Linked DNA regions of Homo sapiens: all the other regions are linked to region 1. The links are contacts of gene promoters, found by promoter capture Hi-C in human tissues and cell types (Jung and others, 2019). All regions are on one chromosome and are shown on one strand. The core of a region is centred on a gene start or on the middle of the fragment in contact, and the rest is flanking DNA. Distances in the headings are between cores, read along the strand shown.

Region 1 (4,683 bases), core at 475-2,974:
TGATACTTTTCTTTACCCATCTTAAGGGTCACAGCTGACACTACCATAACAAAAAACAGGTTAGCAAGATAAATGGATAACTTATTGAATCACAGTTTTATGGGATGTAAGTGCCTTCAGAAATGAAGACCCAAAGACCCAGGGAAAGCTGTCCATTTTTATGCTTAGATGAGATGAAGAATGGACAGCTGTGTAGAAATGTGATTGTACAAAAGGAGTATGATCTAATAGTAACAGACTGAAGGAGGAATCCAGCAAGTCCTGTCTGTTCAGATTCTTCTTGGCCTCTCTGTGCAGCTTTCCTTCTTCCTGAGTGTAGGGCAAGACCCTTTTGGAACGAGGGTCTTATGACAAGGTACATCAAAGAATGTCTTTATGGCCAGCTCTTACACAAAAAGGTGGGGGAAGGCTAGATTAATATTTCTAGGTTTTTCTAGAATAATGTTTCTGGCTTGCTTGGGAGAAAAGGGGTTCTAGTTTCCATGACCCGCCTTGGGGAACAGAAATTCTGGTTTCTATTATTTGCTTTAGGAGACACAGAGGGGTGGGAGACAAGAGGGCAGGAGAAAGTCAGAGACAGACTTTGCTTTTAAGGCTTCTCTGAGGCACTTTCAGTCTTCTTTAGTTCAAAGCACTCAGTGTGCCAAAGAGCCATACTCTGGGGTGTCGTTTCCTGAGCACCAACAATATTGGCCAAGGACATTGTGACTATCCTTACCAGTGCTGTGGTCCTTTAGGAAGTTGAGAAGGGGCTAGAGTTCCATGAGAGCCCAGGTGTAGATGTGTATTTGGTAGTCATCGGCTTAGGGTCAAAGACAGAAGTGATATAGAATCAGTTCATCTAAGGCAAGAGTAGGTTCAAAAGGTTGCCCCTTAAGGGTAAGGACCAAATTTTATTCATCTCCGTAAGGCCAGGATCAAACACAATCAAGATTTGATAAAACAGGCCGGGCGCAGTGGCTCACGCCTGTAATCCCAGCACTTTGGGAGGCCAAGGTAGGCAGATCACCTTAAGTCAGGAGTTCTAGACCACCCTGGCCAATATGGTGAAACCTCATCTCTACTAAAAATACAAAAATTAGCTGGGCGTGGTGGTGCGCGCCTGTAATCCCAGCTACTCGGGAGGCTGAGGCAAGAGAATTGCTTGAACCTAGGAGGTGGAGGTTGCAGTGAGCTGAAGACTGCAGTCCAGGCTGGGCGACAGAGCAACTCCACCTCAAAAAATAAAAAAGGAAAAAAAAAAGATTTGATAAAATAATGTACATATAGGACAGAGCTGGAGGGAAACCCAGGAAAGGTGAATCAGAGAGAGAAAAGACGCCAAGATAATGTGGTGACTTGGGAGCCAGAGAGACGGAGCCTGAGACTTGGAGCAGGGCACAGCACAGGAATACAACACTTTTCACCAGAACGACATTCCGACCTCTGAATCAACCCTGGAAAGGCCCTTCCATTGAACTTCTTGTGATGGAGGAAAAGAAACCCTCAGTTTCGTCATCGCAAGGCGGAAGAGTTTAAATACCATACCTCAAGATCTCCCTCCAGCCCTGACACGCGACTCCGCGGCCCTTTCAGCGTCGGTCGCCTAGGAGACAAGCGCCACTTCCGGCAGCGAAGTCACTTCCGCGGAGGTCCTGCCTCTCCCTGCGGACGGGCGCTGATTGGCCCGTTTGAAATGCGCCAGGCGGGAGCTCACCTGGGCTCTTAGCGTCGCCGCCGGCTTCGCAGAGCACCGCGCCTTAGCCGCGAAGTTCTAGTTCTTGCTGCCGGTCCTAACGTCCCGCAGTCTTCGCCAGCCAGCCGTCCCGCATGCGCGTTTGGGCGGCGTGGAGCCTGCTGCCATGAAGTCAGCGTGAGTACGAGGCCGCCGAGCAGGGAGAGAGGGCGGACGGGGGCCGAGGCCTCGGGGCTGGGGGCAGGCGTCTCCACTCAGGCCGCGGCCGTACGCGGGCAGCGCGGACAGCATCCCGCCCGGTGCTGCTGCGGCCGCGACCCCAAAGTGGGAACCTCCACGTGTGGCCGCTCCGCGGGAGCCTGGGCGCGGAGACCCCTGCCGCGTCGCCCCCCGCCGCCCCGCCTGGGCCTCCAAGGGGCCAGGAAGGGTCGGCCCGGAGCCGGGGTTGTTTTACGCCGCACCCGGTTCCCGGGGGCGGGGCAGTCCTCCTCGGGGTCCCGGGACAGCCTTTCCCTTCTCCCTCGCTGGCTGCCGCCGCCTCCAGAGTGCAGTTGGCCAACTTAGTGCGGGTCGGAGGTGGTCTCGTGTGTGGAGCAGAGCGAGTGTGCTGGGCATTGGTTAGATGGGCTCCGTTTCTGGAGAGCCCTGGCACCGGTGATCGCCGCTAGCTTTTTTTTCAGCCGAGCACCCTGTCCTTGAGGCCGAGCCCATCCGCTTACACAGGCCAGTTACTTCTGCTGTATTTTGTGGCCGCAGAGAACCTCCGCCCACATTCCTAAGCTAATATTTTCGGCGCAGCATCATTCCTGGGTAAAGAAATATTTGTCGTGCAAAGGAGAGGATTGGCTTTATTACCATTTAGGGAGTCGTTTGCAAAAGACAACTTGTTTATTAAGAGGCCGAAGTCAAAATCTTTAGATGAAAAAAATTATATATAAGAAATATACGTTGAGTTTAACTTAAGCCCACCACAAAGTATTTTGCACTGAATAACACGAATTTGCTTGTGTTTCATCTGAGAATATGTTTGGAAAAATATTTTTAAACTACAGTCGAAGCCAATAATCTTACTTAATTTTAATGTGTTAAATGTATATCTAGCCTATAGATAAATGTGAAGGGAAAAAGATGAGATGCTAGAGAAATGGTGAAATCAATCAAAATAACTTTTTGATTGCCCCTACTTAAGAAACCAAGAAATTGGCAGTTTGGGACCAGATTTTGTTTGGAGACAAAGAGTAATGTTTTGAGCATTCAATGACTGGTTGTTCCTTGAAAGTACAGGCGTAACCCTTGACGAAAGAATGGTTTCCTCCATGTGCATTTTTATAGTGTATTGAAGTTAATCGCTTGTCAGTCTGTAAAGTGTGGGCAGTTATAATTTGTAGTGCCTCTGTTAAATTGTTGCTCAAGAAAATATGCAAGCCATTTTAAGTATAGAACTAATCAGAGAATAAGTAGGTAGCTTTGGTACCAAAAATGTATTCTAAAGCAAATTTTAATTACTTTTGGATTACGCATGCCACAAACACTCTGCTACTATGATTATTAATGTTATTTGGGATGCAGTGTTTTGCAACTGCTAAGGGATAATTTACAGATAACCTAGAAAGATTGTATAAGTTTTAGGTGAGGCTTTTGTATTCGTGTTGAACTGAAAAAAAAGTTATTATTATTTTTTAATCTATGACCAGGAGAGCTAAGACACCCCGGAAACCTACCGTGAAAAAAGGGTCCCAAACGAACCTTAAAGACCCAGTTGGGGTAAGGTATCCCTGTAAATTTATGTGTGGTGTTTAAGAAACTTATCTCTTCAGTCCTTTCTGTCTTATGTGTATGCTTGGAAGGGAAAGAAGAAGACATGTGGAAGTATAATCAAAGAACATTTAGTTAAATGGATGTACTACATTGTGTAAAACTAGTGCTAGCTGTGAAATTTTCTCTATAAGATTAATTAAATTAGTCCAGTAAAATGAAGTCTTTGGTTGTCAACTGCATACCTTCTGTAATTATAATTTGGAGAGTTAGATAATTAAAAATCTCCAACTGGGTTCATATTCATCCCAGAGAATATGAACTGAGTTCATGCCATACAGTAACTGATGGCATGAGGAGAGTTCCAAACTTCTTGGGACCAAGTTTAATTCAGTTAAATTATGAAGAAAAAATGAAGCAGGCAAAAAGAATAAGAATTTTAAAACAAAACAACAAATGGCAAACAAAAAGGGTTCTTTGCTCTGAGGTATTTTAAATCTATCCCTCGTTGCCACTGGAGTGGGTCCCTGGCTCTGAGTTAAGGGAACCGGGTGCTTTGCACACAGCTGAATGAGTTTTCCTCAAGCCCCCTCCCCTGCTTTCAAAAATGTCTCTGTAGGCTGGGTGCGGTGGCTCACATCTGTAATCCCAGCACTTTGGGAGGCTGAGGCGGGTGGATCACCTGAGGTCAGGAGTTCGAGACCAGCCTGGCCAACATGGCGAAACCCTGTCTCTACTAAAATTACAAAAATTAGCTGGGTGTGGTGGTGGGTGCCTGTAATCCCAGCTACTCGGGAGGCTGAGGCAGGAGAATTGCTTGAACCCAGGAGGTTGCAGTGAGCTGAGATCATGCCATTGCACTCCAGCCTGGGTGACAAGAGAGAAACTCTGTCTCTAAATAAATAAATAAATAAAAATGTCTTTGTATATTAAATGTTGGGTTAAGCTGACAAGTTTTTAAATTGACATCCATTTCCAAGAAATTCTAACAGTTTTAAAAATCTCGTGTGACATGTTGTTGACTTTTAGAGATATTAGTAGTAGTATAACTATTATTTGTGTACAATATAATAGTGAATACACTGCAATTTGATTTTTATTAAAATTTATTTTAATTTTGTGTGTATTTAAAGTATTCTCATATCTAATACATACTTGTATTTGTCAATCTCAAGTAGCAGATTTTAATTTTCTTAGCCCTTGGAGATACAGAGCTCTTAAATTGAGAGACTGAATGTTTGTTGAATGAATGA
Region 2 (4,465 bases), core at 885-3,384, 340 kb before region 1:
GAGCTAGGTCTGAATAACCCCAAGACTTGTCCCTGATGCCAGAAAGAATTATTAGAATATGAATTAGTGTGGTGGCTCATACCTATAATCCCAGAACTTTGGGAGGCCAAGGTGGGAGGATCACTTGAGCCCAGGAGTTTGAGACCAGCCTGGGAAACATACCAAGACCCCATCTCTACAAAAAAAAATTTTTTAAAGAATAGGAATTATGCCTATCAATGATAGACTGGATAAAGAAAATGTGGCAGATATGCACCATGGAATACTATGCAGCCATTAAAAAGGATGAGTTCATGTCCTTTGCAGGGACATGGATGAAGCTGGAAACCATCTTTCTCAGCAAATTAACACAAGAACAGAAAACCAAACACCACATGTTCTCACTCATAAGTGGGAGCTGAACAATGAGAACACATGGACACAGGGAAGGGAACATCACACACTGGGGCCTGTCTTGGGGTTGGGGGGCTAGGGGAGGGATAGCATCAGTTGAAATATCTAGTGTAGATGATGGGTTGATGGGTGCAGCAAACCACCATGGCACTTGTATACCTATGTAACAAACCTGCACATTCTGCACATGTACCCCAGAACTTAAAGTTTAATTTTTTTTAAAAAAGTGCAACAAAAAAATAAGAGTTAGTGTTTTTGGTCTAAAGAAACTGAGATCCTGAAAGGTGAAATAGTCCAGGGTCCCTCAGCCAGGATCCTGATTCCCCTTTAGAAGAGAACAGATGCAAAAAAAAGCACAGGGCCTGATTCGTAGTAGATGTTCAGTAAACACAAGCCCCCATCTCTTCTCCAAATGAGATTTCTTCTACAGCTCACTGTCATTGGTCCAAAGAATGCAGCCGCTACACTGTGTTATTGGCAGGATTGTGGGCATGACTGATTTCCTTTCTGATTGGGTAGGAAGGCTGAAGGGCGAGTTTGGAAGGGCTCTGTTCCCTTCATCTCACTCCTTTCCCCACTCGCATTTCACCCAACAGTCGTCTGATTTTTGAGCAATCTGTTCCTGGAAAGCAGAGGAAAGTAACAGATTGATGCATCGACTGCGTGTGGCCAAGTGATTTATTTTTAATGTGACTAAACAAGACACACACCTGCCTATGGAAACGTAATCACATTGAATCATCAGGGACTTAGATAGCCATTTAAGCAAGGGAAAGACAGAGAGGAGACAGAGGAGAGGAGGAAGAGGAGGGAGAGAAAGAAAAGGGAGGCAGGGGAGCAGAGACAGAAGAGGAGAGATAAGAAGGGACTGGAAGAGAGGGAAGGGAAGGGAAGGGAAGAGAAGACTGGGCCAGCTCCCTAAAAATGTTTATTTCAGCAGCATCAGTGAAGCACCCTCAATTGGCCCAAATGCCTGTGGTTTAGCTTTGCTGATGCCTGAAATTTCATAATTAGACTTTCGTCCCTGTGATTTAACCAAACACAGTATGTTCTCCACTAAAGTGTAAATGCAACAGAAGTAGTGCATCAAACTACATCAATCATTTTCACCTCAGTGAGAAAGAACTGATATCTTTTATGAAAGCAGGAGTTTTTCTATGGGGGGGTTGTATTAGTCCATTTTGCATTGCTATAAAGGAATACCTGAGACTGGGTAGTTTATAAAGAAAAGAGGTTTATTTGGCTCATGGTTCTGCAGGCTGGATAGCATGACACTGGCATCTGCTCGGCTTCTGGTGAGGCCTCAGGAAGCTTTTACTCATGGCAGAAGGCAAAGGGGGAGTAGGCAGGTCACATGGCAGGAGAGGGAGCAAGAGAGGGAGGAAGAGGTGCCAGGCTCTTTTATACAATCAGATCTCACTCTAACTAATAGAGCAAAAACTCACTCATTACCACAGGGAGGGCACCAAGCCATTTATGAGGGACCCACTCCCGTGACCTAACACTTCTCACCAGCCCCCGCCTCCAACACTGGGATCACACTTCAACATGAGATTTGGAGGGGAGAAATATCCACACTATATCGGGGGCATTAAAACAAAGTTTATGGGAGTCACCAGTGAAGGCACAGAAAGGAACCTTGGGGGCTCTAGGGACTTTCTCCTTCATGGCTTTTCTTAATGATAACACCTACCTTTACGAGCATTTGTTATGTTCCAGGCACTATGGATGCGAGCCATTACATGTACTATTTCATTCCATCTTCCCAATGGCCCTGGAATTTTGCGCTGGTGTTCTCATCACTCTCCAGGTGAGGGAACTGAAGCCCAGCCTGTCGTCATCTGTCTCAGCACTCTGAAAGGAAGATCCAGTTACAGCAGAGTTTCTCGTGGAATGCCCAGCCTCACCAATAGTATCTTGCTTGCAGAAGGCACTCAGTAAGTATGTGCCAACAGAGTGAAGTGGCAGGGATGGGACATGAATGTAGACAGTCTAACTCCAGAGCCTGTACCCTTAGCATTTGCCACAACTTTCTCCCAGATAGTCCACTCCGTTCTCCCTGCTTCTCACCCGAATAGCATACGAAATTCATGAACCACTGACTTTGGGAGGCTAAATGTCCTCCATCACAGCTCCCTTCTCAATCTCCCTGGGTCAGTACCAGGAATTAGCCAGCCAGACTGTTCCACTCTGTACTGCTAGTTTTCTATGTCCAGATACCTTTTCCCAGTTAGTCTGTAATGCCTTTGAGGGAAGGCACAGCATCCATGCAGAGTCTATGGGGGGATGTATGAGTCCTTTTGAAATTGCAGTTTCTTTCTCAAAAGCAAGATTATATCTTTGTGTTTTCTATTAATATGATTGTGGTAGGTTTTTTTCTTGAATTTTATATCAATATCCTTCACCCTGCCCCTAGCAATAGCACGTGAAGGAGATTATGAAGTCATAAGTTAGGGGGGCATCAGATTGATAGCTTTTTGAAGATTGATAATATCTAGTGTGGGCAAGGATGGAGGAAATGGATACTCATACATTGTTGGGGAGGCTTTCGAGGAGGCAAATCATCAGTAAGTAACAGTGGCTGAAACAAGATAAAAGCTTTATTTTATTTTTTTCTCATACAAAAGTCTAAGCTAGTAGAAAGTCCTGGAAAGAAGGCTGGCTCGGCTCCACAAGGTTATACAAGGACACAGGTTCTTTCTGTACATTGTACCACCATCCCCAGGGGTGTTACCTGCATCACCTGCTGGAAGCTGACTCCCACTACCACATCTGTTCTCTGAATAGATTTCTCCCTGGGGAAAGCAGAAGTACAACAAACAGCGTATTTTAAGGACCTGATTCAGAAATTGCACACAATGCTTCTCATCAGTCATAACTTAGTTACACGTCCCCATGTAGTAGCAAGGGGGGTGGAAAATATATTCTCAACTCATACCCACCTGAAACTCAGGAGATTCATTGCTAAAAGGAAGAAAAGAGAAAATGGATAGTAGGGGGACAGTGAACAGTTTCTAATACAAACAGGAGGAATTATCAAAGTTAAAAGTGCATATATTGCTAGACCCAGCAATTCCAGTTCTAGAAATGTATTCTAAGGAAATAGTCACACAACTACACAAAGATTATGTATAAGGGTAATACTAGTGGTTTTAAAATATGTTCACAAATTCTTTGATACCCTTCCCTTCACAAAAGGGCTACACTTAATGACTTACTCCTAATGAATAGAATGTGGCCAAAGTGACAATGTGTGACTTCGGAGGCTAGGTCATAAAAGGCCCTATGCTTCTACTTTGCTCTCTCGAATGACTGGCTATGATGGAAACAGCCACCATGTTGTGAGGACACTCAATTAGCCTTGTGGAGAGACCCACATGGGTGAGAAACTAAGGGCTGCCACCAACAGCCCACATCCACTTGCCAGCTCTGAGAGCAAATAGATCCTGCAGGCCTAGTCAAGCCTCATTTGACTGACGCCTCAGTCAACATCTTGACTGCAAGCCCATGCAAAACACTGAGCCAGAAACCACCCACCCAAGAAGCTGTGAATTCCTGACTGGCAAAAAATGTGAGTGATTATAAATATTTATTATACTTTTAAGCCACTACTTTTTGGAGTATTGTGTTAGGCAGCAGTAAATAACTAATACAATAATCATTGCTTCCTGTTTGTAATGACAAAAAAGAGAAAGAAAATAAAAAATTTAAAAAAAGAAACACCAGAAATGTAAATAATGGGAGGTTAAATAATCCATGAGAAATCCACAGTTTGGAATTTGCAGCTATTAGAAAGAGAGCTATGGCGTAAAAGACCTGTATGTTCTGTCATTGACAGCTCCTTAAGACATATTAGTACATGAAAATGACAATCTGAAGAACACTTACTGTATGGTCTCCATGACATAAAACTGCAAAAAAGTTATGTGTGCATGTACATATGTGCATATATGCAATAATGTTATATTTGTGTATATCCGAATGTGTACTTTCACATACTTGTAAATGCGTGGAATAGGAGTGAATGTCGCATACCAAATGGCAGGCAGTGGTTTTACCAGGGTGGAGGAAA
Region 3 (4,667 bases), core at 1,420-3,919, 320 kb before region 1:
TCAGACAGCACTGCTGTGTGAACTCCAGCTGTGCGATTGTGCCATGCCCCCCCAGGTCTCTGGGCCTGCGTTCCTATCTCCCCTCTGCTTGGAAAGGTAATTCACAACAATAGCTCACACTGACGGGGCACATCCTGTGTTTCAGGTGCTCCACTGGAGGCTGCAGGTGGATTATCTTGTTTAATCCTCACAACTTCCTAATGAGGTAGCGCTGGTATTAACCCCTCCACCCTGCCACAGTGTCACTCGGCTAAACAACTCAGATTTGGGGGAATATGCTAGAGAAGCACATAGGAGTTCTGGGTTGAGGTCTCCCACCGGAGTTAGGGAATGAAGGATCAAATGAAAAAGGTCAGAGGAAATATGATAGTCTAGAGGCCAGGAAGGGGTTTGAAGATGAAGGGAGGAAAACTAGGTGATGAACTGGGGCTGCGTTGCAAGACTGGGCAGCTCCATCTTGGTTGACATTGGGGCTCCTCCCCACGCAAGCAAGGGTCTGAGGGCTTAAGGAACCCACATAGCTCAGGCTAGGTCCTCTGGACTGCGAGCTGCCCTGGACACCATAGATAATGGCTGTTGTCCAGGATTTCCTAGTCCCTGAAGACTGGAGGCTCTGCCATGTCCCTGCCAGGCTTACCTGAGAGTGTGTGTGTGTTTGTGTGTGTGTGTGTGTGTGTGTGTGTTTATAGGGGGGATTATTTGCACCTTTGTTGAGGTTGGGAACCTTGTGTGCCAAGTAGGCGTGACCACCCTAGGGTCCTCACTGCCCACTTCCCTCTAAGGTCTCCCCACCGCCGCCCATCCCTATTGCCTGTCTGCCCCTTTTTCTGGTGAGGAGAAGCTCCCCAAATCCCTTCTTCAGCTACTTCCCTCTCACCTGCTCCAAGCCCTCCCTCTCTCAGACAATTCAGCATAATTCCCCTGAAAACGTGTTTTTACAAAACAAAAGCCAGGAAGGGGAGGAGGTGTGTTCTGGGGTGCTTGGCAACAGCAGCCTGTGCAGCCAGCGGCTTGGCTGGATGATGTGGCTCACCCAGCAACACAAAATCCTCTGAGAACAGAACTCACAGAGGCTGGGCTCTCTCCCACACTGGGGAGGGGAGTGTCTGCAGCTGGAAGAGCAAACTGCATGCAATTGCCTCCAGGTTTCCCCATCCCATGTGTAATGACATCTTCATTTGATTAATGACTGTCTTCTGCATTCACCACTGAGTGTAAACTGTATAAAGACAGGGTTTTGTGTCTGTTCTGGTCACTGTGGCCTTAGTACAGAGTCCAGCACACAGTAGGTGCTCAAGAAATGTTTGTGGAGGAGGGAGCGAGGGAGGGAAGAAAGGAAGGAAGGAAGAAGGGAAGGGAAGGGAAAGGAAGGGAAGGGAGAGAAGGGGAGGGGAAGTGAGGGGAAGGGAAGGAGAGAGGGAGGGAGGGAGGGGAGGAAGGGAAGTGAAACAGTTTGAAGGAGGTGATGGGCAGGATAAGAGGAGCATCTGTAATTTCACCTTTCTCCGCCTCCTTTTCTCAGAGCCCCTCTTCTTGGGCCTGCGATTCCTCACCTGGAAGGGAGAAGAGTGGACTTCCTGCCTAGAGAACACCTTGGTAAACTCTTTGTGGTTCCTGTCATGAGAAGGTGTGCAGCTTAGGGAAAAAGCCTGTGAGCTCTGGAATCAGATGGAACTGGATATGAATTTCCATTTAGTGCTTGTTGGATTAAATGTGATGCTAGTAAGTACACTTGCCTAGTTGCTGCTCAAGAAATGGAGCTATTATTATTTACATCATAATTTGAACTTCATTCATTCAACCCATACCGATGAGCAGCCACAGGCCCTCCTTCCACAGGGCTTACCTTCAGAAAGTTCCACGTGTCCCTTACTTTCTGGTAGGCACATTCATGGGCACGTACCATGCTAAGGACCAGGGACCTGGAGATGAAGACAGTCCTGTCCACTGAGGGGTTCACATCTTTCCATAAAACGTTCTGACCCCCCTGTTTCTTTCTTCTCATCTCCTCCTCCAATCCCCCCTGGGCTGGGGCACCTCCTCTGCACTGTCCCTCTGGAAGCAGAGAGGAGTTTCCAACCTCCTCCAGTCCCCTGCCAGGTATCCTGAGCCTGAGAGCTCCTCAGAGCATTGTCTGCAGTTACCTCCTCACTTACAGCCCAGACTGAGATACTCACACTTGTGATTGCCCAGGTGGAGGGGAGAGGTCAAACTCTTCCCATGGCCTCCTTTCTCCTCTGTGAAAACTCCAGATCTTTGCTCCTGATTTTTTTTTAGTGTGTACCCTTTTGTATTTCAGCTTCTCCCAGCCGAAAGAATAAAACTGGTAAGAGGAAGGGAAATGCAGCCTCAGTAAGGAGGCCTCCATTCTGGAAGGGCTTCCCAGGCCCAGAGAAGGGAGAAAGTAATTTGGAACCACCCAAGTATTGGTGATGCCAGGCCTCACCCTACCCTGGGGATATTTGAATCTCAAAAAGGGAGCATGGGAATCTGACAAAGCACTTGCATGTATAAAGAACTCCTCCAAATCAACAAGGCAAAAACCTCATTAGATACATAGGCAAAAACCTCAGAAGAGCCACATCACAAAGGAGCACCTCCAAATGGCCAAGAAGCATATGAAAATATGTTCAATCTCATTAGCCAACAGGGAATTCAAATTAGAACTACACCAGGATGGCTGAAAGTGCAAAGACTGACAATATCAAGGGCTGGTGGGGATGCAGAACAACTGGAACTCTCCTATGCACTGCGGAAGGGGTAAATTAATACCGCCCCTTTGGAAGAACAGTTTAGAAGCATCACTAAAGCTGAATATATTCATGCCTACTCCGGAAATCCTGAGCCCAGGTATATATCTAACAGAAGTTTGTTTATAAAGGCACCAAAAGTCAATTACACAAGATACAAGAATGTTCATAGTAGAGCCGTTTGTATTAGTCATAAACTGGAAACCACCCAAATGCCCATCAGTGGTGAGTAGATAAATAAAGTGGGGGTAATTTAGACAATGAAAATGTGTATAGCAATGAGAATGAATAGAGCACTGTCACCTGCAACAACATGAACAAATCTCACGAAGGTGATGTTGAGTGAAAGAAGCCAGATACGTAAGACAGCACGCTCTGACGCCATTAATTTCAAGTTTGAAAACATGTAAGCCTTAAGTCTGTGGTGTTAAGAAGTCAGGACAGGGGTTGCCTTTGAGAAGGAGTGGGGCAAAAAGGGACTCTGGGAGTGCTGGTAAAATTCTGTTTCCTGATCTGGTGACAGTTATAGGCTATGTTCACTTTGCAGAGATTTATGTTGTACATAATTGGTTAAGTTTTGCATCTTTCTGTATGCATGTTATACTTCAACAAAAAAGAAGTTTACTTGAAAAGGAGGCAAGTAGAGCTGGGCATTGTGGCTCACACCTGTAATCCTAACACTTTGGGAGGCTGAGGCAGGAGGATCACTTGAGCCCAGGAGTTTGAGACTAGTCTGGGCAACATAAAAATATTTTTTTAAAGAAAATTACCTGTGTACAGTAGTGTGCACCTCTAGTCCCAGCTAGTCAGAGGCTGAGGTGAGAGGATCGCTGGAGCCCAGGTAGAGGGTGCAGTGAGCTGTGATCGCACTGCTGCCTCCAGCCTGGGCGACAGATGGAGACCCTGTCTTTAAAAGAAATTAAATTAAAAATAAAAAGAGGACAGTAGGGGGAAAGCAGTATGGAAAGACAATGCTCAGCCCAAAGGGGTGAGTAGGGGACTCTGCGACTGTGTTTACTGGAATTTAGAGACAGTCTCTGGGAGGGAATGGAAGGGAAGGAAGCAGGTGGGGCAGAGGGAGAGGTGGGGTTTCAGTGCAGGCCAGCCACAGCCTCTCCAATCCCTCAATCCCTTGTAGGAGTCCTGCAGCTAGATGAGTTCCTCAGAGTCATCATGACTTGGGCTGTGATGGCCACACCTTTATACCCCAGCATTGGTCAGTCACTGAATGTGCACTGCCCAGGAAGAGGAGGGATCTCAGGCCTGGCTGCGCTCTGCAGCTGAGGCCGTCTGAAAGGGGCTGGCCTGACTATAGCTCTCCCAGCATGTCCCTCCTTGAAGTGGATCTGGGCGACCACCACAGGAAGCCTGCCACCTGAGTTTAGAAGATTTGGTGGCCTGTAAAGATTTTTTTTCAGATCCCTCAGTCCCAGCATTCCTAGTCTGGTTAAACTCGTCCAGCGGTGCCCAGCACTCATAGGACCTGCTTTGCATCATAGCCTGCAGACAGGCTTCCCACACAGGATCCAATGCCTGGACACACCAGAGGTCTTTGCAGTTTGCCTCTCACACCTCAGCCAAAGCCTCTCCTTGGCCTGGACTCATTTGGTGAAATCCAGCTATCCTGTAAGACTTGAGAGTCACCTCCTCCAGGAAGCTCTCCCAGATCTTGCCCCTTCTACCAGGAAGGCTGGGCCCTTGCTCTTCTGAGTCCCCTCCAAGCACCCTAGCACCCTGCCTTTTATAAAACTCTCATCACACTCTTTGTTTACCTGCTGGTAGAAGTAGACTGAGATCAAGAGATGCCTTGTCACTCCTGATCACTGACACTGCACAACAGTGACAACAATTCTGATGGCTGCCATGTACTGAGCTTTTCCAGCCAGGCTGGCATTTGCTGTGCACATCCATGCCTGA
Region 4 (4,501 bases), core at 426-2,925, 380 kb before region 1:
ATCAGGAATCTTCCCTTACAGCCTCCTTTGGCCAAGCACCCAGAAAAAGAAGCTTCCCAGCCCCAACATCTTACCCAACTCCATCCCCGGGAGAGAGTCAAGGCTCTGAGCACTGCCCTGGCTTTGAGGATAACCCTGAGTCCTGGCTCTGTTCCACCCCCCAGGCCTTGAGCTCTGGAAGTTGACTGCCCCCCCTACCCCCATAGGTGTTCTATTGGACTCACCTGTCCTACCTCCTCGTGTGGCTTCTGCTCATCTTTCATGGGCCCAACTTCTGGAAGTGGCTGCTGGTGCCTGGAATCTTGTTTTTCCTGGAGAAGGCCATCGGACTGGCAGTGTCCCGCATGGCAGCCGTGTGCATCATGGAAGTCAACCTCCTCCCCTCCAAGGTACAAAGGTGGGGGATGGGGAGGTGCTTTTCCAACTCACCCCAAGGGACAGTTTGTGGGGTGGAGCAGCTGGATACCCTGTCAGACCCCCAAGGAAATAGAGAATAGTGTAGCTGCAGCCCCATTGCTATGGAGGAGAGAAGCAAAATGCAAGACCCAGTCCAGCCCTCCAGGAGGGAAGCTTTAGGAAGATGAATGGCAGGGCAGGCAATAAACCTCTAAAATCCGATTTTGGGGAGAACAGTCTCCTTCAGCTCAGTAAGCGTTTATTAGTGCCTACAGGGTGCCAGGCCCTGAACTAGGTTACAGAGAAATAGAGAAGGTTCTGCACTGTCCTGCTTTCTAGGGGAGCCAGCCCTTTCATTACAGTGCAGGGCTGTGTTGCTGGAGGTATTAAACCCTTTGTCTTTGGGAGGTCAGAAAAAGCTTCAGAATAAGGGAGAAGATGCCATATCAGGGTTTTGAGGGATGAATAAGAGTTTGTTGGATAGAGAAGACAAGGAAGGGTATTGCTGGCAGGAGGAACAGCACAGTAAAGACACAGAATTGTGAAAGGGTATACTGTGCTTGGGGGACCACAGGTAATTTGGCATAGCTGGAGCCAAGTTGCCAGGAGGAAGCCAGAGAGGTGAGGAAGGCCTGATTATGAAGGGCCTCCTGAGCTGGGAGACCAACCCCGCAGGCCATGGGGAACCCCTGAGCACGCTGGGAGGAGATGGTGGTATTAAGCTGTGACCATTAATATTCTAGTTAGATTTCTTTAGTTGCTCTGTGGAAGGTAGCTTGGAGGGGGCTTGTGGGGAGGTTCTTGCAAATACAAAGATGAGAGTTCATGAGGGCCTTGACACTGAGGCAGTGGCCATGGGATGGAGGCAGGTGCACATCACAGAAAGACTCAAGAAGCAACTGGTTATGTTTTGCGGCAACAGAGAGGATGGAGTCTAGGACGTCTCCCAGGTGTCTGAGAAAAGGAAGGCAGTTCTAGGCGGGCTCAGCTCTGGACACACTGCGTTAGAGGACCTGGGAGGCTGAAGAATGAGGCTGTGCTCTGTGTCTAGGCTCTGGCATCCAACAGCCTCAGCTGCATTCAGATCCCACGGTTTCTTACCCAGTGGCCTTGGGAAGTTATTTAACCTCTCTGAGCCTCCTCTTCTTGTCCCTAAAGTAGAGAGAAAATAATATCCACGTCATACAACTGCTGTGAGGCCTAGAGATAACACAGTGCTCCAAAGCAATTGTCTGGAAAGATGTTGTTATCCAAGGAGAGATGCCCATTGATGGTTAGAATGCTAGCCACACTCTGGCTGAAGTTCCAAGAAAGGGCTGGAGTAGCCAGGGAGGCATCACAGGGATACGTCACAGAGGGTCCACTAAAAAGCAGTGCTTACACCCTGAGAGGCAGGGTAAAACCAGGGGCCCCAATTCAGACACAGCCTGGCTGCCCCCTCTAGGATTGTTGCCCACTTCCAGATTGGCAGGTTGGCTGCTGAGGTGGGCCACCACTCAGAAGCACAGAAGAGTGTCATGTCTCGGGGCATGCCTGTTTTATGGAGGAGGAGGGCAGCCCAGCTTCTGCCCTCTTGTCCTGTAGCCCCTGGTGGCTTTGGGCCTGCAGGAATGATGCAGATCTCCTTCCTCTTTCCCAGGTCACTCATCTCCTCATCAAGCGGCCCCCTTTTTTTCACTATAGACCTGGTGACTACTTGTATCTGAACATCCCCACCATTGCTCGCTATGAGTGGCACCCCTTCACCATCAGCAGTGCTCCTGAGCAGAAAGGTAATGGCCACCTCCTCCAGTCACTCTGCACATATTCACTGAGTTCCTACCGTGGGCCAAGTACAGGCTGGAAACTCGGAACACAGCACTGAACAAGGCCAGAAACACAAAGTCAGCCTCAAAAAGCTCTCTTTGAAGTGGGAGCAGGCATGCAGACACCGATTGGCATGGCAAGGGCTGTACCAGCTGCACTGAAGTCTTACAGGGAGGGCCTGGCTTGGTGGAGAGAAGCCTTTGCAGACACAGGGGCATTCAGCTGGACTTTGAATGGTTAGCAGGAGTTTACCAGATAGGGAAGGAGATGGGGAGGAGGCAGAGGGAAAAGCAGAAGTAAAAACATGAGGACCTGGAAACTCAGAAGAGTCTTCTGTAACTAGAGCTATGGGGGGTGGCGGGGGGTAGGCAGGTGGAGTAGCAAGGAAAGAAGGGAGGGACATACAGAGAGAGAAAAAGAGCATGAAAGGCAGGTGATGTGGCTGGCAAAGCCAGTTAGAGCTAGGATGGGACTAAGGAGGACTTCAGAAGCAAAGTTGGAATCCAGATGGATGGAGCAGCCAATTGGGAGCCAGGAATGGTTCTTAAGCAGAGGAGTAGCCAGCTCAGGAGAGGATATAGGCATTTTTAAGAGGGCTGCGATGGGAGACCAGGCTTCCCTACTCCCACCTGGACTTGGGCCTTATAGAGCCCCAAGGCAGCAGAATCCCTCACACCCTTCTCCAGCCCTGAACTATTCCCACTGCTTTTTGGGTTCCCAGCACACACAGAACAGTTCAGCTGATGCTTTGCTCAGCTGTCCTCTGACTCTCACCCGTGCACGTGCCTTCCTTCTGGTCCCAGGCTGTTTTTAGAGCTGCTACCTGGACCTCTGCCCTTCTGGCCAGGCCAATGATTGGCCTTCCCACCACGAGAGGTGCCTCCAAGTATGACAAGTGTGGCTTGCACTGACATTTCCAACAGGGAAGGCCTTGAGTGACCTATTACAGTAAGACCCTGGCTTGGCTTCATGAGGGGTATCCAGCCCTGGGTGCTGGGGGTTCTCTGACTCATCCTGGTTACAAGCTTTAGTGTCACTCAGGATGCCTCCCAGACCCAGCCCAGCAGGACCCCTGGCCCAGATCCCTCAGCTCACGATGTAGACCCAAGGCCAGGGTTTCCCCATGTGGGGCTGCATACCCCCTACCTTGGAATCACCTGAATTGTGCCCTCAATGTACCACGGAACAAAGTTAGAGGTTGGAGAGGGTGAAGCTATTTTCTCCCTATTTTTTTCCTTTTCTTTTCTACTTTGTAAAGAACGTCTATGCTCTCAGAGAACTCAGACAATATCAAAATATGTACAGAAGAAAATGAGAATCCTTCAAATAATTTTATCCAAGGAAAACCATTGCCAATTATTTGGTGAATAGGCTTCCAGCTCTCTCTCTCTATCTATCTATCTACATGGCTAATCAGATGGAGAGATTTTGTATACATGGGCTCACACTACAGGCAGTGTTTCATAGCAGCACACTTTTTCTTAGTGAACAGTATGTCATGGAGATCTTTGCATATCAGTGAATATACAGCTTTTCCTTTTTGTGGCTGCATGGTATTCCAGTGTGTGGATACTAATATGGTTATTGACTATTATTAATATTATATGGGCGTGTCATGTATTTCACCAATTCTTTTTCTCCCCTAACTTTCCAAACTTGTTATATTTCACCAGTTCTTTTTTTTTTAGAGTCTCATTCTGTCACCCAAGCTGGAGTGCAGTGGTGTGATCTTGGCTCACTGCAGCCTCCGCCTCCCGGGTTCTTCTGCTTTAGCCTCCTGAGTAGCTGGGATTACAGGCACGTGCCACCATGCATGGCTAATTTTTTTGTATTTTTGTATTTTTAGTAGAGTCTGGATTTCACCACGTTGGCCAGGCTGGTCTTGAACTCCTGACCTCAGGTGATCCACCCACCTTTTCCAAAGTGCTGGGATTACAGGCATAAGCCACTGTGCCCCACCTTCACCAGTTCTTGAAGGGATTTCTTCTGGGTCTCAGTTTGGAATCTGCCTGTCCTTGGACCCTGGGAGAGTCTCCTGCCCTGAGCTGAGAGGGTTCATGTGGGGGCTGATAATATACCAACTTCGTTTACAGAGCTTGTTTACTGGAGTCAGGAGTGGGACTCAGTTTAGCAGCTGTGGCTGAATGAATTCAACCACCATTCTTGGAGACCTCCTAGGTCTGAGTCATTGCTTGAGGCACTTCAAGCGACTTGGGATGCTGATGCCTTAATGAAGGAGGAAACCTCAGAGAGGTGGATGGAGCTAGGATCCTAGAACTTGAGCTCCAGTCCTGACTTT

What was found. The method cuts DNA at HindIII sites, captures the fragments that hold promoters and counts their contacts. A contact is called where the count stands out against the background at its distance.
Region 2: a contact is called between a fragment that was not itself captured here and the fragment with the promoter of KIF23 in region 1, in 4 of the 25 tissues and cell types used here (IMR-90 fibroblasts, adrenal gland, bladder and 1 more).
Region 3: a contact is called between a fragment that was not itself captured here and the fragment with the promoter of KIF23 in region 1, in 1 of the 25 tissues and cell types used here (mesenchymal stem cells).
Region 4: a contact is called between a fragment that was not itself captured here and the fragment with the promoter of KIF23 in region 1, in 5 of the 25 tissues and cell types used here (H1 embryonic stem cells, IMR-90 fibroblasts, aorta and 2 more).

Annotation. Positions count from the first base shown.
Region 1 is chr15:69,412,625-69,417,307 of GRCh38, forward strand. KIF23 (kinesin family member 23) reads left to right here and starts at 1,725. Exons shown (of 24, transcript NM_001367805.3): 1 at 1,725-1,852; 2 at 3,370-3,439. The coding sequence starts at 1,842. KIF23-AS1 (KIF23 and PAQR5 antisense RNA 1) reads right to left here and starts at 2,405. Exons shown (of 2, transcript NR_132971.1): 1 at 1,528-2,405. RefSeq lists silencers at 1,895-2,014, 2,045-2,124. The HindIII fragment of the contact is 14,046 bases long and covers 1-4,683 here.
Region 2 is chr15:69,069,227-69,073,691 of GRCh38, forward strand. It overlaps LOC124903515 (a long non-coding RNA gene), which reads right to left. Exons shown (of 2, transcript XR_007064692.1): 1 at 2,087-4,465; 2 at 1-1,015. Among named protein-coding and RNA genes, the nearest start is that of EWSAT1, 9.4 kb to the right of the region's middle. The HindIII fragment of the contact is 5,134 bases long and covers 1-4,465 here.
Region 3 is chr15:69,089,393-69,094,059 of GRCh38, forward strand. It overlaps EWSAT1 (Ewing sarcoma associated transcript 1), which reads left to right. Exons shown (of 4, transcript NR_026949.1): 2 at 1,523-1,722; 3 at 2,300-2,975. Among named protein-coding and RNA genes, the nearest start is that of EWSAT1, 11 kb to the left of the region's middle. RefSeq lists enhancers at 299-800, 4,041-4,541. The HindIII fragment of the contact is 7,179 bases long and covers 1-4,667 here.
Region 4 is chr15:69,036,822-69,041,322 of GRCh38, forward strand. It overlaps SPESP1-NOX5 (SPESP1-NOX5 readthrough), which reads left to right. Exons shown (of 17, transcript NR_033672.2): 9 at 207-389; 10 at 2,036-2,168. NOX5 (NADPH oxidase 5) reads left to right here. Exons shown (of 16, transcript NM_024505.4): 8 at 207-389; 9 at 2,036-2,168. Among named protein-coding and RNA genes, the nearest start is that of NOX5, 24 kb to the left of the region's middle. RefSeq lists an enhancer at 1-459. The HindIII fragment of the contact is 4,814 bases long and covers 1-4,082 here.